Regions from separate parts of the Homo sapiens genome. Here all the other regions are linked to region 1. The links are contacts of gene promoters, found by promoter capture Hi-C in human tissues and cell types (Jung and others, 2019). All regions are on one chromosome and are shown on one strand. Each heading gives the region's core, a stretch centred on a gene start or on the middle of the fragment in contact. The rest is flanking DNA. Distances are from core to core; before and after follow the strand shown. Region 1 holds the start of ADAMTS5 (ADAM metallopeptidase with thrombospondin type 1 motif 5). Region 2 has its middle 74 kb from the start of LINC00113. Region 3 has its middle 38 kb from the start of LINC01673. Region 4 has its middle 24 kb from the start of LINC01673. Region 5 has its middle 53 kb from the start of LINC01673. Region 6 has its middle 130 kb from the start of LINC01673.

Evidence for each region. The method cuts DNA at HindIII sites, captures the fragments that hold promoters and counts their contacts. A contact is called where the count stands out against the background at its distance.
Region 2: a contact is called between a fragment that was not itself captured here and the fragment with the promoter of ADAMTS5 in region 1, in 1 of the 25 tissues and cell types used here (heart right ventricle).
Region 3: a contact is called between a fragment that was not itself captured here and the fragment with the promoter of ADAMTS5 in region 1, in 2 of the 25 tissues and cell types used here (bladder and dorsolateral prefrontal cortex).
Region 4: a contact is called between a fragment that was not itself captured here and the fragment with the promoter of ADAMTS5 in region 1, in 2 of the 25 tissues and cell types used here (dorsolateral prefrontal cortex and heart left ventricle).
Region 5: a fragment that was not itself captured here is called in contact with the fragment with the promoter of ADAMTS5 in region 1 in 1 of the 25 tissues and cell types used here (IMR-90 fibroblasts).
Region 6: a fragment that was not itself captured here is called in contact with the fragment with the promoter of ADAMTS5 in region 1 in 3 of the 25 tissues and cell types used here (IMR-90 fibroblasts, dorsolateral prefrontal cortex and lymphoblastoid cells).

What each region holds. Positions count from the first base shown.
Region 1 is chr21:26,965,789-26,968,452 of GRCh38, forward strand. ADAMTS5 (ADAM metallopeptidase with thrombospondin type 1 motif 5) reads right to left here and starts at 1,300. Exons shown (of 8, transcript NM_007038.5): 1 at 1-1,300. The coding sequence starts at 603. LOC124905050 reads right to left here. Exons shown (of 3, transcript XM_047441063.1): 2 at 1,656-2,182; 3 at 868-1,296. The coding sequence ends at 868. The HindIII fragment of the contact is 10,779 bases long and covers 1-2,664 here.
Region 2 is chr21:27,794,648-27,797,311 of GRCh38, forward strand. No RefSeq gene overlaps it. Among named protein-coding and RNA genes, the nearest start is that of LINC00113, 74 kb to the left of the region's middle. The HindIII fragment of the contact is 4,360 bases long and covers 1-2,664 here.
Region 3 is chr21:27,675,430-27,678,093 of GRCh38, forward strand. No RefSeq gene overlaps it. Among named protein-coding and RNA genes, the nearest start is that of LINC01673, 38 kb to the left of the region's middle. The HindIII fragment of the contact is 6,931 bases long and covers 1-2,664 here.
Region 4 is chr21:27,612,786-27,615,449 of GRCh38, forward strand. No RefSeq gene overlaps it. Among named protein-coding and RNA genes, the nearest start is that of LINC01673, 24 kb to the right of the region's middle. The HindIII fragment of the contact is 3,174 bases long and covers 1-2,664 here.
Region 5 is chr21:27,584,568-27,587,231 of GRCh38, forward strand. No RefSeq gene overlaps it. Among named protein-coding and RNA genes, the nearest start is that of LINC01673, 53 kb to the right of the region's middle. The HindIII fragment of the contact is 6,113 bases long and covers 1-2,664 here.
Region 6 is chr21:27,507,409-27,510,072 of GRCh38, forward strand. No RefSeq gene overlaps it. Among named protein-coding and RNA genes, the nearest start is that of LINC01673, 130 kb to the right of the region's middle. The HindIII fragment of the contact is 3,550 bases long and covers 1-2,664 here.

The DNA.
Region 1 (2,664 bases), core at 50-2,549:
CTCGAAGCTGAAGCCCTCGCGGGTGTAGACGTGCAGGATCCGTGCGGACCCATCCCCGTACACGCGCCCCTTTTCTTCCTCCGCCCAGGGTCCGCGCAGCAGTGGCTTTAGGGTGTAGCGCGCGTGCTTGACCGCGAAGAAGCCGTCGAGACCCCCACAGAGGTCAAAGACAGCCAGAGAGCGGGGACTACCGTCCACTGTGCCCCGATAGAAGCAGTGGCTCCGGTGGCGCCAGGGCGCACTCGTCCCGCCTCCTGCGGGCACGAAGCCAGCAATGCCCACCGAACCATCTCGCTCCAGGTCCAAGAGGAACCTCCGGCCGCCCGCGTAGACGAGGTAGCCCACCTTGCCGCCGCCGGAGTAGAGTTGGTCGATGTTCTGCACCAGCCCCTTGCTCCTGCGCCGCTGCGCCAGGGGGTGCGGGTGGCCGGGAGGCTCGGCTCGCTCCTGCACCTCCTCCCCCTGCCGCCGGCGGGGCTGGGCGGCTGCTGCAGCAGTCGGAGGCTGCCCGGCTTTATCCTGGGCAGGTGTCGCGGCGGGGCCGACCGCGGCCAGGGGCAGGCGGAACGCGCACAGCAGCAGGGACGCCCACCCGAGCAGCATAGTGCGCTGCCCGCGGGGAGGGGCTGCGCGACTGGGACTTTATGGGTATTTGTTATTTGCTATGAAGTTAACGGGGCGGGGGATGGGGACACACACACACTTGCTTGCAGGATTGAGTCAAGTGTCGGAGGGAGGGGGGCCCGGCAGCAGCGCCAGCCTGTCCGGGCTGCGGTGCCAGCGTGCGAACTTTTCTTTGTTGCTTGGGAAAATGTTTGGATTCGTGCTCCAGAAAGAGGTGGGGTGGGGGGGGGGGGAAAGAAAAGATTAAAAAAAAAAAGTCGGATAGTGGAGATTCAGCAAATACGGGAAAAGGAAAAAAACAAAAACCAAAAAACCACCAAATGCAGGCACGATCGCTGTTTCAAGAAAAGTAAGGAAAGGTACCGCGCACCGGGCTGGCAACTGGTGCGCGCAGCCTCCCGCCCCCGCGCTGCGCTGGACAAGCCGGCTGTGGAGGTTCCAAGCTCCGGGGCCCACTTCCTTTCTTATTTTGTGGGTTTCCTTGGCTCTGCTGGGACCAGGAGGAAGGGAAGAAAGAGAGGGGAAAAAGCCGTAAAAATTAAAACAAAAATGCAGGGGGGCAGCCTGAGGCGAGCTGGTGAAGCGGCGTGTCTGTGTCCCTTCGGCTGCGGTCTCCTCCTGCCCGCCGTCATCCCCAGTCGGCAGCTGCGAGCGCCGAGAGCAGCGCGAGCGCTGTGAAGATGCGAGGAGGTGGAACAATGAATTTATAGCGGCATGCCATCCTGCAATGGCAATTTCAACAGTTCGTCACTGCACGCTGCCTCTTAAAGGGAGAGCTTCCCCCACCACTCCCACCCTTCCCAGTCCGCGCCTAATCAGATGGGGGAGGGCAAAAGAGGAGGGTGATCGAGGAAAGGGAGACGAAGTAGGAGGAAGGGACTGGGACCCGGCGAGGTGGTAGGAGGGGAGAGGGGAAAATAAAAAGTAATGGGGCAAGAAAAACAGATTTCCTTGGCCACTTTTAAAGCCACAGCGGCTCCGGGTCTGTCTGATATTTCACAACCAATTGGGGTTGGCTAACCTTGGCTTACCTCATCTCCTGAACGGGTGTTTTGGTTAAAGTTATTGAGACGTTTCAAGTCTCTCCCTGCCTCCTTCTTGCCTGCTTTTCTCGCCCTCGGTGGGAAGTTCCTGCCGCAAGTTTTTCCCCTTTGCACACCCGTGCGCTCTGGCCTCGCAGACCGTGCAACTCCATCCACCAGCCAGAGCTTTTCAGCTTCCCGTGCGTCCCCTAACCACCGCGTTCCCTTCGCTTCCTCCCCTCCGTCCCGGCACCCGGTTTCCTCCCTCCCCATTCTCCAGCCTCTTGATGCTTTGACGCTCGCCGGATTCGGGCTCCGGGTGACTAACTTCTCCCGGCCACCAGCAGAGCGGCTGGACAGCCAGAGAGCCCAGGGCGCTTCCTGGCGCGCTGCGGTACCCCGGGGCGAGAACGCCCGCCGCTTGGGAACTCCGCAGCTTTGTGTGCGAACGGCGGGCTCCCAGCTTTCTCCAGCACGCCTTTCGTCAGGGTCCACAATCTGTCCCTTACTCCCAGCCCACTGGAACTTCCTTTGCTCTAAAAAGGCAGAGCGAGAAAGAGTTAACTCTTAGAGGGAATTCCGCTCATTTTTTTTCCCTGAAAGATTTTAAAATTTTGCGCTCATACTTTTATTTTTTGCTTAAATGATACTTTAATAATAAATTCCTATATCTGTTTTTGTCTCTTCTAAAGCAACCACTTATCGCCATAGGCCTTGACCTACCTTCATTCTCAGAAATTCCTTTTAGAAGAAAAAGAATACTTTTGGCGGAAGGAAGATTGGTGCTTATTAGTACGCGGGTGACATTATCACTGCTACTCGTTTCCTCTGACCTCTTTGTTTCCTCTAATTATCATTCTAAGAAGGGAGAAGGAAAACCCGACGACTTATGGTTAGAAGGTCTACCTTCTACTGTAGGGGTAAGAGCTCCCTCCATGCCCAAATTATTCTTCAGGCTAATTAACTAATGCACCAGTGAAAAATGAATGTGGTGTAATTTGTACATTTCCATCTTTTT
Region 2 (2,664 bases), core at 46-2,545, 830 kb after region 1:
GAATGATTCAGGAATACAATGCCTTAGGTACTTAAGTAGTTGTAATTGATACCAACCAAAAATGACCACATTTCCTCACATATGTCTTTAGTTACATGCCACATTTCTGATGAAAACAAGGTTGCTAGCTGGTCCCTAATGGTGTCATTTTTTGTGTCATTAACTTAATTTGCTTTTTATTAAGTTCTAGTCCTGATCAATTATAATAGATTCTAGGAAACAACTCAAATAATGTTTCTGGTAAATAAAATGCTCCCATCACTAAATAAGAATGACTAATGATACAACAAAAAAGGAAATGCCTCAGACTCTTACGGAAACAAATTATCCTCCTTTTCTCCTTGAATAAGTTTGTATCTACTCTTTTAGGGGACAAGTATATGGAAAAAGTCAATAAACAGAAACCGTCGGAACTTGCCTAATGACATTACCAACATGTTCAAAAAAAGTAGATTCTTGAGAATTTTATAATAAAACGTAACAGATTTATTATTCCATTTTTACTCTTTACAAAACAGGTGCACTAACCACAATTGGCTTTAATAATGAAAGTATTTCAAATATCGTATTCAACAATGAAATCACAACTCCCATAAACCGTGCTTTCAATCCCTGGTGCTTCTTTAAACTCTGAAGAACTTTAAAATTTGAAAATAAAAAATAAATAAAATGAATTTTTCGTTTTAAAATTTTAAAACAACTTAAAAAAATTCCAATACCTGGAATATAAAGTTAGAATATGGAAATAAAGGCCTGGCCATCAGCTAGTTTTTAAAACTCCTGAGTGTGCATGTTAGATTGAGAACTACTGCTCTAAGGAATGTTTTACATTTCAAATATTCAGACAGAGGCCAAGTTCCTGTTCTAACAATTTAATTAATTGTTATGAAATGGTGAGGGGGTTCACACTCTTGAATACTACTTTGTGAACAAGGATCTCTCCCACACCTTCCCAGTGACAGTTGCTAATAACGTCTTTGAAGTTAAGTCTGCATGAAAGGGCAATGTAAAAATCCTTTTTATAACTGGAAATGAATCAGACAAGCTTCTCAGCTACTCCCTAACCAAATTCCAGTAAATCTTATATTATTTGGCCCATTTTCCCTAACTCCTGTTGCGATTTAATTCTGCTTCAGTCCTATCCAAATTACCACTCTCAAAAGATTTTGCTTAGCAAATAACTTTTTAAGCTATATTATCAGTTCTTGTCAAAATTGCATGTTGGAGCCTGGAAAATATCATTTTAATACTAAAAATCCCTCTAGTAACTCAATTACTTCGGGATTTTGTCATGTGTGTGAAAAGAGTATTTAGTTCCAAAAATAGAGAGACTTCTAAGGTAGGGCAATTTTGTTAGGTGGTTTTTTTTTTTCTTTTTCTTTTTTAGGTGAGTATTTTAATTTAAAGTTCAAAACAAGTTCAGCAGATTAGAATCCCAGATTTTTTTTAGTGGGGGTATTATCCTCATTTTATTATTAAAGGGTGAAATTAAGCCATAGAATTTCTTCTTAGGAAGCTCCCTCCTAGGTAATGCAGCTGTCAAGCTATGGACAAACCATTTCACGTGGTTATTTCTTTAACAGTATAAAGTACACAAGTGATTCAGCTGGGGCTTTATTCTTGCCTGCGTTTCTAGAATGCTTCTAACCTAAGGCAGCATTTAAGGTGTTTTATCCCAACATCTGGAAGTCATCATCTAAACACTCATACCATTACCCCATGTCTAATCTTTTGTTCTGCTCCTTCATTTGTTTATGTAACAATTGCTTTTTAAGCATTTCTGCATGGCTGGCATTTAGGATACAATGAGAACAAAAACACAACAGGAAAAATATCTGTCTCCACAGAGCTTGCATTCTTATGGGATAGACTGAAAATAAACACTGTAAGTTTCGGATACCAAATTATAAATGCTAAATGGAAAGTAGAATCAGTGAAGGGTGTAAAAAATTTTGGAGATAGACGTGAGTTTCACATGGTAGTATTATATTTCAATGGGCGCTCACTGTAAAGGTGAAATTTAGGTAATGAATTTAGAGGCCAGGCATGGTGGCTCATGCCTGTAATCCCAGCATTTTGGGAGGCCGAGGTGGGTGGATCACCTGAGGTCTGGAGTTCGAGACCAGCCTGGCCAACATGGTGAAACCCGTCTCTACTAAAAATACAAAAATTAGCTGGGCATGGGGGCATGCGCCTGTAATCCCAGCTACTCAGGAGGCTGAGGCAGGACAATCCTTTGAACCCGGGAGGCAGAGTTCGCAGTGAGCTGAGATCCCACTACTGCACTCCAATCTCAGTGACAGAACAAGACTGTCTCAAAACAAAACAAAACAAAACAAACAAACAAACAAACAAAACTTAAAGAGAATCGTAGGAAAAAAAACTGCACATGGTAGAGGAATAGTAAATGGATTTGAGGGAAAGCTATAAGGCCAGTGTTGCAAGAGATAAGTGCAGAGAGAAGTGGGGACGGATCTTGGAGGAACTTCTGGCTCAAAGTAAGAAATTTGCATGACAGGATAAATTCAATTGATTGTTTGATAGTGGAGAAAGATGCTCTGATTTATGGTTTAGTAAGATCACTTTAGCTAATACATTAAGAAGAGAAAGTAGTGGTCATGTGCCTAAGTAGACAGAAGAGTTAGGGAGATAGGAATACGAGGG
Region 3 (2,664 bases), core at 54-2,553, 710 kb after region 1:
TCGGGTTTGTATGAGTTCCCGTTATTCTACATCCTTGCCAAAGCTTCATGTTTTGGGACTTGTTAATTTTTGCCAATCTGGTGGGTGTAAAATGGTATCTCATTGTGGCTTTAATTGGAATTTCCCTGATTACAAAAGCGGTTAAACTCCTTTTACAGAATTAAGAGCTATTCATCAAAATGCCCGTTTGTGCATATTGCCAATTAGTATGCTGAGTTATTTATCTTTTTCTTACTAATTTGTGGGAGGTTTTCATATGTTCTGGAGAGTAATCCTTTGTTCATTACACATTTGTTGAACCAGTCTGCATTGTTTCTCTTTGCATTTTTTGTATTTATTGCTACACAGAAATTATTAACTTTTTTCTCATTTATTTTTTGACCCTTTAAAAATTAACCCTTTGGGCCGGGCGCGGTGGCTCACGCCTGTAATCCCAGCACTTTGGGAGGCTGAGGCGGGCAGATCACGAGGTCAGGAGATCGAGACCATCCTGGCTAACACGGTGAAACCCCGTCTCTACTAAAAATACAAAAAGTTAGCTGGGCATGGTGGCGGGTGCCTGTAGTCCCAGCTACTCGGGAGGCTGAGGCAGGAGAATGGCGTGAACCCGGGAGGCGGAGCTTGCAGTGAGCCGAGATTGCGCTACCGCACTCCAGCCTGGGCGACAAATGAGACTTTGTCTCAAAAAAAAAAATAAAATAAAATAAAATTAACCCTTTTAATAGAACAAAGGCATAAAATTTTCTCCTGATTTCACTTAAAAATGTTTCATAACTTTGCATTTTTTTGTATAGATCTTGAATTCACATTACAAATGTCAAAATTGGCAGGGAATGTAAAATGAACAGGAAAACTCTTAAAGTACCTAAAATAGTAAATAAATGGTGATAATAAATATGAATCCCGTGTTTAAACTTTTCATGTTATTTTTTGTTTTGAGATTATTAAGAGAATAAATTCAAAATGAAATTACAAGTAATTTTACTTTGAGGTAAAAAATTTACTAATATGGTAATTTTATTGGAATATAGAATACTTGTAGGTCACTGGCATATTCGAAAATATACATTGTGAATTGTGCGGTAATCGAACCTAGTCCTTCTTTGAAACTGAGTGAATGTGCTATAGCTTTAGTAGGAAAACTGATGAGACCTGGTAAAAAGGCACAGCTTTTTATATCTGTTGTATTCTAACTCTTAGGAAATGTTTTTAAAGCATTCAGACAGAGGCAACAGAAAAATCTAGGTTTATTTATTCTGTTTGTTTTTCATGTAAGAATATTTGATCTTCTTACCCGCTTAATTTCACCTGGTTTGTTCAATTACTAGTATATAAACTTGTACCGAACTTTCAGAAATGTAATTTATACAACATTCTTGTGAAAATGTTTACTCTTTATCTTAAAAAATTAAAAATCGAAAGTTTGACTGCATTTGTGTCCAAATTTCTTGAGATTCAAAACATTTTTATTAGTGTTCTAATATGCATACACAGGTAAGTTCTAAATTAAGGCAGTTTAGAGTCTTTTTCCTCATATAAACATTCTATAAAATAAAATGATGGTAAACCATTATTTCACTTTTTATGAACAAAATGAAAGAGAAAATTTCAGATCTCTCTACACTCCATTCTGGACTTCAATGTGCACAGAAAGACATCAAGAGTTAACTTAAGAGGAAGAATAAAATAAATATCTAACGCCCTTTAAAGTGTTATATTTTTACGGCAAGTATCTGGATTTGTTTTTATAAAGTCTTTTAAAATTACTTTTGTGCAAGCTACCATAAAATATAATATTGATATTTTGGAAAATATCGGGGTTTAATTCTAAACTTTATTAAGTTAATATTTATCTGAATAAATTTGGAAAGTAATCTAACTTCTTTCAGCCACAATTAGTTTTCTCAGCTCCTATAGATCACACAGTTATGTGAAAAGCAAATGAAAAAGTACTTTGTAAGCCTTAATATTTTTATATTCCTGTAATATATGATGTGGAAATGAGACAAAACAATGTTATCATTTAGAAGTCCCAGAGGAAACTTCTAGTGAGTCCATTAAATTTATGTTAAATCTATTTTGAAGCTAAATATTATTTATTTTTTTGAACTACATATCTTAAAATTAGAAGTTTCCCAAGAGAGGTTATAGATGAAATTATGGATTTAACACTAGTTAGTTAAGAATGTAATCTTGTTTTAATACTGCAGGCTTTCAGCCAGGATTATACCTCATACATTGCTCGAATATTTTCCTCAAATAATTGAATACTTTGGAATGGAATTTTACATTCACTCTATATGCCAGCCCTCAAGCCTCAACTAAGCTCAACTTGAAAAACAATGCTGTACACATCACCCAAGCAAAAACTTTCTCACATTAATTAAGAGATTCTGATTGGATCCCAGCAATCAACTCATATGGCGCCATATCATCCACATTATTTGTAGAGTAGGCCATGATATTTATTACTGTTGGCCTGGCAGCTGTGTCTTTGAAATTTTGAGGTGGTTACAAATGGAAATGGGCCACATACCCCAAACTTACCTTCTTTCATTACTTCATTTTTTCTGGCACTTGTAGTTGCATTTATGGAATTTATATATTTCATAATACTGTATCCTTAAGCAAGGATTAGCAGCAGCATCAACAATAAATATGACT
Region 4 (2,664 bases), core at 47-2,546, 650 kb after region 1:
GTTCTAAAAATTGATTATGAAAATCTTGAGAAATACTGGTCAGGTATGTGGTAGGATGTCCCTCTATTGGAATTTAATATTTTTCCAATGATTAGGGTTAGATGTTCCCCAGATAAAAGACTATGGAGGTAACGTGCCAGTTTTCATAACAACATATCAGTGGTTCACATTATCAACACGACTTATCATTGTTGATATCATCCCATCACCTGGCTGAAGTGGCGCTTGTCAAATTTATCCATTGTAAAATTACTCTCCTTCCCATATTTTTCTCTTTGGCAGGAAGCTACTATGAGCAGCGTACACTGAAGAAGTGGGGAATTATGTAACACTTCTATGAGGGAAGCATAACAACATAAATTACTTGAAATTCTCTAGCATGAGAGATTTGCCTTTTCTCCCCAATTTCTTGGTCATTTATTTCTAAAACTATGGACCTGTGGATATTTATTTTATACTTTGGGGTATAAACCAGTTCTAATCTATTCACTCTGTTGTTCTTTGTTTCAGCCTTGGCCACTGGATGTTCTTTCTGTTGGTTTTTGTGCCTCTTTGATATACTTGCACCATTAGCCTGTGTGTTGAGTGTTTTCTTAATTTCTATAACTGCAAAATGCTCCAGGAGTATCTTGTATGTTTCCTGGTCTAGTCCTGAAATCAGTCATTTATAAAGTCCTGGTTTTGTTGTTGTTGTTTCTCTTTTTTTAAATGGAGATTAATATTAAAAATGAAGATCTACATGTTAGGTGTGCTCTTTTCTACTGGGGTATCTTTGCTTCTGGACATTTAAGGTGAGAAAGCAAAAGAAATATATATGGGTTTATAGTAACCCGTGTGTAAATACATATCTATAAATATTTCTTCATGTAACCATCTGTATCCATATTAAGTTAAACATGAGTTTGAGTTCATACTGATGTATTCAAGTTCAGTTCATTATGACATGGATCATTCTAGCCTCCTCCCCTGGGTTACCTGTCACCTCTCATTCCAGCAGTAAGAAGCTTTTTTTTTTTTCTTTTCAACTTTTATTTTAGATTCAGAGGTTTAATAACTAGGAATATTGCATGATGCTAAGGTTTGGAGTAGGAATGATCCCATCATCCAGGTACTGAGCTTAGTACCCAACAGTTTTTAAATCCTTGCCCTCTTCCCTCCTTCCACCCTCTAGTAGTCTCCAATGTCTATTATTCCCATCTTTATATCTATGTGTAGTCAATGTTTACCTACCATTTATAAGTGAGAACACGTGGTGTTTAGTTTTCTGTTCCTGAGTTAATTTGTTTATGATAATGGCCTCCAGCTGCATCCATTTTGCTACAAAGAACATGATTTCATTCTTTTTTATGGCCATGTAATAGTCCATGGTGTATATGTACCACATTTCCTTTTTCTGATCCACCACTGATGGGCCCCTAGGTTGATTTCATGTCTTTTGTACTGCGAATAGTGCTGTGATGAATGTGAGTGCTTGTGTCTTTTAGGTAGAACAATTTGTTTTCTTTTGGACATATATCCAGTAATGAGATTGCTGGGTCAAATGGTAGTTCTACTTTAAGCTCTTTGAGAAATCTCTAAACTGCTTTTCACAGTGGCTGAGCTAATTTACATTCTCACCAACAGCATATGCCTCTCCTGTTCTCTGCAGACTTGCCAGCATCTGTCGGTTTTTTATGTTAATAACAGCCATTCTGACTGGAGTGAAATGGTATCACATTGTGGTTTTGATTGGATTTTCCATGATGATTAGTGATGTGGAGCATTTTTTAAAGTTTATTGGCCATTTGTATATCTTCTTTTGAGAAGTGTCTTTTCATGTTCTTTGCCCGTTTTTAATGGAGTAGTTTGATTTTTGCTTCTTCAATTGTTTAAGTTCTTTATAAATTTTGGATATTAGACTGTTGTTGGATGCAGAGTTTTTGAATATTTTCTCCCATTCTGTAGGTTGCCTGTTTATTCTGTTGATAGTTTTTTTTGCTGTGCAGAAGCTTTTTTGTTTGATTACATCTCACTTGTAGATTTTTGTTTTTATTGCAATTGCTTTTGGGGACTTAGTAATAAATCCTTTCCCAAGGCCAATGTCCAGAATGGAGTTTCCTAGGTTTCCTTCTGGGAGTCTTACAGTTTGAGGTCTTACATCTTAAGATAAAACCATCTTAAGATGTAAGACCTCAAAAAACAATATCCATCTTGAGTTGATGTTTGTATATGGTGAAATGTGGGGATCCAGTTTCATTTCTCTGCATATGGCTAGCCAGCTACCCCAGCATTATTTATTGAATAGGGAGTCCTTTCTTCATTGCTTATTTTTGTCAACTTTGTTGAAGATTAGATGGCTGTAGGTGTCTGGCTCCATTTCTGGATTCTCTTTTCTATTACATTTGTCTATGTGTCTGGTTGTATAGTATATGTAGAGTATCATGCCTTTTTGGTTACTGTAGCCTTAGAGTATAGTTTGAAGCTGGATAATGTTATGCCTCTGGCTTTCTTCTTTTTGCTTAGAGTGCTTTGTCTATTCAGCTTCTTTTTAGTTCTATGTGAATTTCAGAATAGTTTTTTCCAATTCTGTAAAAAAAAAAGATACTGGTAATTTAATAGGAAAAGCACTGAATCTGTAGATTGCTTTGGGCAGTATAGTCATCAAATGCTTTTTACGCATCAGTT
Region 5 (2,664 bases), core at 65-2,564, 620 kb after region 1:
TCTTAGCCAAATAGCAAGCAATCTCTGAGTCATAAAATTACTTGAAATCCTGTTTTGGTTATTTCCAGTGGAGAGCAGGCCACTGTAGAGATATTTAGGTACAATAGTATCTGGTATCTGTCAATTGATTATGTGAGCAGAGGTGGTACAGCTTTGGTGAACTGGGCTGCTGAGCGCCAGATCGAGCCCATGGCCGTGAAGCAGGGCAGTTAAGAGCCATCGTAGGGGTGGGTCTCTCTAGTGGCAGAAGCAAATTGCCAAATAATAGTTTGTCTGAGAGAGGAGATCTACAGGGAGATGATACTCTAGCTATGATGGCAAAATCGGTCCCAGTTAGAATGACAGTGCAGAGATAATGACCAAATCTTCTGCTGAGGCTGCTACCACCAAGGCTAAAGGACCCTCTTCAACTGAAATATTTAAAAAGAATGATTGCACGGGAATGAAAACCTCAGAAGTTATTACTCTTTAACATATTTGCAGGAAGTTAAAGGAAGAGGCTAATCTCAATGCCAATGAAGAATAATCCATTTTCTTTTCTTTCCTTTTCTTTTTTTTTTTTTTTTTTTTTTTTTTTTTTTTTTTTTTTTTTTGAGACGGAGATTTTTTCTGTGGCCCAGGCTGGAGTGCAGTGGCGCGATCTCGGCTCACTGCAAGCTCCGCCTCCCTGGTTCACGCCATTCTCCTGCCTCAGCCTCCCTAGTAGCTGGGACTACAGGTGCCCGCCACCACGCCCAGCTAATTTTTTGTATTTTCAGTAGAGACGGGGTTTCACTGCGTTAGCCAGGATGGTCTCGATCTCCTGACCTCGTGATCCGCCTGCCTTGGCCTCCCAAAGTGCTGGGATTACAGGGGTAAACCACTGCGCCTGGCTGAATAATCCCTTTTCTTAAGAGCATGACTTCAATTGCAGCCTGAAATCTGGCCAGGGTACATGAGCATAGCCCCCCTTATGATTGTACCCTGCATCTGATACAGAAGATTCTCAAGTGTCATCAATCTTCTAAAATACAAAAAGATTTTACGTATTAAAAAGATGAATTACTTTTATGTCTTTAAAAGCAACAATGCTGTTTGGAGGCATCTGTTTTTAGAAATTCTGAAATCAATCTTTAAGCTAGAGGTAGAAGCAACATTAACAAATTTACGATTAGGGAGTGAGACAAGAATTAGGTTTAGATAGGATAATCTAAATTTCTTAATATGGGTTAAAAAAGACTAGTCACAAGAAAAACAGGGTTAAACATATTCCTTTATAACTTTTAAAATTATTTTAAGTATTAGCAAGCAAAAGGAAAAGCAATTTATGATAAAATCATCAGATTAGCAGTAAAACTTACTTTTCAAGTTTGCGTTATTCATGGGGGCATATTCGCATCACATTCCTTTCATTATGCTCAGGATAGCTGGGCATGGTGGTTCATGTCTGTAATCCCAGCACTTTGGGAGACCAAAGCAGTGGGATCACTTGAAGTCAGGATTGATTGGCACCCAGCCTGGACATCAAAGCGGGACCTTGCCTTTGCAAAATAAAAATAAGAAAATTAGCTTGGTGTAGTGGCATGTGCCTATAGTCTCAGCTACTCAGGAGGCTGAGGTGGGAAGATTATTTGAGCCTAGGAGTTTGAGGCTTCAGTGAGCTGTGGTCACAACACTGCACTCCAGCCTGGGTGACAGTGTGAAACCCCAACTCAAAAAAACAATATTAAGATATAGATATTGCTTAATGTCTTTTCATTTCAACTTTGATAAAACAACAAAGCAAATAATTCCAAAATATATTTCTCATATTAAAAGTGACCTGCCCCCATTGAAAGAAATGTATCATGTTTTGTTTTGCTACATGCATGCATTTGTTGCATCAGTGAAACACGTGAAGTTACTGCAGTGAGGTGTGAACGGGAGCATGAGTTACTCAAAAGAAATTATGTGCAAAACCATGTATACTGAGGCCTTTGTGAGTTAATTTCTTTTTGAAGTTGGCTGCAGAACTTTGTGGTTTGGTTTCCATTCAGTAAATATTCCCAGTGTTTACATAATGCCAAGCAAAGGGACACATGTTGTGGAAGTTTGTTAGAGGGATTCGAACTTTAGGATGAATCTTTTAGTGGAAATTGAAAAACAAACAAGATTTATCTTAAAGAAGTATATATTTAATATATATGAAATACAAGTAATCCGATGTGCAGCATATTCATTCAATGGAATCTTTCTTTGTGTTGTTTTAAGAGTATTTACAAAAATGAAAGAAAAACTGCAGATAAGTTTTCTTTTCTTTATAATCAGGAGCAATGTTTAATTATTTATGAAATCTAAAATTAATAAAAATATATGCATTATCTTTTAGAACAATAATTATAATGGAAGCTATGTTACCATTTACATTTTCTTTTGGAAACACTTTATAATCATTATGGGTTTTGGGAATTTTCAGAGGCACTAATGCATCGTCAGTATTCGGTAATTCTGAAAAATAAAAGTACCGACATTAAGAAATATTCACTGACATGTGGTCGATTCTCGGATATGAATCCGATGGTCCTCGAAACATGGAAAGTCTGCTGTCACGCTGCACGCCACATCCTGTCAGAACTGGAGTCACACTACAAATCACTTAAATGAGGCTGGAAACCTTTCCAGACAATAGAATGTGTAACTCTTGAA
Region 6 (2,664 bases), core at 105-2,604, 540 kb after region 1:
GTTTTTCAATGACAAATAGAAATCACCATTATCTTACTGAGGAAGGATTATATGATGAAGTGTCTTCTGGTGTCTATTCAAGGAAAGTTTGGAAAGCTTCTCAACTGGGATCTGAAAATCCTAACTTGGGATCAGGTAGACACAGCTTTAATCAATACTGTTGTATTATTTTGATATTTCATTTTTTGACTATGTTCTTGGATATGTGTTTTGTTTCACCAAGGACTTCTGCAATTTATTTTTTTATTTTTTATTTTTTATTTTTTGCTACAGAGTCTCACTGTCACCCAGGCTGGTATGTGGTGGCATGAAGGCCTCTGCCTCCCGGATTCAAGAGATTCTTGTGTCTTAGCCTACCAACTAGCTGTGACTACAGGCATACACCACCAGGCCCAGCTAATTTTTATATTTTTAGTAGAGACAGGGTTTCACAATGTTGGCCAGGCTGATCTCAAACTAGCCTCAAATGATCCGCCCGCTTTAGCTTCCCAAAGTGTGAGCCACCGTGCCTGGCCTACAATTTCTTGACAGCACTGATTCTTCTCTATCTTCCTAGGCCTACCAAGGGCCTTTTAGGTGTGTGTTTGACCCTGGCTGTTTTCTGATCTCAGAAACAAAGATCACCCAAGAGCTTTGAGCCACAGGAAGAAGCATAACCAAATATATTTCAGATTATCTAAATGTCCATTAAACACTACACTAATCTTGGGTTATTGTGTGAGGTCTTGAAACATGAGGTCTTAATCATGTCCAAATTAGTAATTGTATGATGGAAAATAATCTGCAATCTCTTTCTCAAAATTGTTTTCTAAAAAAAAACACTGAGGGCTTTTTTATTGTTTGAAAAAGGCAGTTATGAATCACTAAACAGAAATTAAAGCATTTTAAAGATTATTATTTTAGGAATTTTTTACTTGAAAAGTACTAAATAAAGACAAGTAGCATTTAAACAAAGAAAATTATGTTTAATAATTCTGTTGTTGAAAGCTTTATTTTAAAAAAATTGTGGCTATATTTTTAAGTATTTTTAATCAACTCCAGTATTGATATAAAGTTGGCACATTCATTTGTTTGTGATGTACTGTTTTTGCTGTTGGTGGTGGTAGTAGTAGTATTTTTAGCAGCCTTACTCTGAAATCTGGAATGAGAAAGACTTGAACTTTTATGATTGATAATGAACAAAATAATTGATTGGTAAAACAACTGTTAGTAATGGCATTTTTTTATTGCAGATCTTCTCTTTTAGAATTGGGTATAAAGTGATATGCTAAATGTCTTTTAATTTTACATACAAGCAATCAAAGGAGAAATGGCTTGGCGTTCAGATCAGCATGTCAGAGATAGGTGAAGTTACACTGGTGTGTTGGGTGTTTCCTGATGAATATCTCTGAAGACAATGGAGAAATGACACACATGAGACATTTCCAGCAGACCTGAGTTAACTCTACGCAGCTCAGCAGGACTCCATTCATCTGCCTCACAACACCACCAAATCACCACAAAATATTTATTTAAATTAGAATACAATATATTGGATTCTTTTGAAAAATTCACAATATTCTAAATTATATTTTAGAAATTATGCAATAGATAAATGAGAACATAATTACAAAAATAATTTTCAAATTCATTGCATTTATTGTAAACTTTCTTCTTCCAAGGGTTTGAATGAACAAAGAAAATCACTTTGCCTTTATAACTAATAAATAAATGTAAAAACTTTAACTTTTTGCAAGCTAGATACCAACTGCAGAGAAGATGAGACCCTGTTTTATGTAAGTGTTGTTAGTACCTGTTCTCATATTTTTTTCTCTTAGAAACAGAGAATAAAAAGCTAAAAACAAAGGTCTCATTATATTGTAATAAAATGGTACTACATAAATCTGTGCTTATCCTGTCTTCACATACTGCAATCCAAGAGGAAAATGAAGCAAGCTGAAAGCCACAAGGGGAATTCCACACAAAGATAATGCTACAACTACATAGTCATTTAGTATACACATGTATACACACACACACACACACACACACACACACACACACACTCCAAACATATTCCTAGTCAATAGACATAGAAAGGGAATAAATGGTACATTGCAAACAGCATTGATCTGAAACCTAACATATCCAGATTGCTTCTGTCACTACTTATTACCATGGCCTTGGTCATTTTTTACTTCTCCAAGCCTCGGCTTATGCATATGGAAGTGAGAAATCAGATTTGTGGGATTTTCTGCATTTTTTCTGGCTGTGTAAAATTGAGCCACCTAATAATGACCATTAATAGATGTCAAACATGCTACCGGGAAATAATTAGGCTCCACAGTCAAGTGCTACTAGGGTGAACACTAGTTAAGATTTGAGGGAGTTATAATTTTTTACAACTGTATAAAAATTTTAAGAACAGTAATGTGCCGTAAAATACTGAGAAATAACCTACTTTAGTAGACATTTTTTTAGTGCTTAAAGAGAAATTTTCACCTTACAAAACCTCAACAGTTGCAATGGACTGATTGTTTTACTCTGTTAGTTTTGCTTAAATATTAATTAAATATTAAATATTAGAATTTTCTCTGAGAGCCTGGGAATCTTGATGTTAGTGAAGCTGACCAGTGGAAACATGGGTCATAGTGGGGAATGAAAATGGAATATCATAGTGACTTA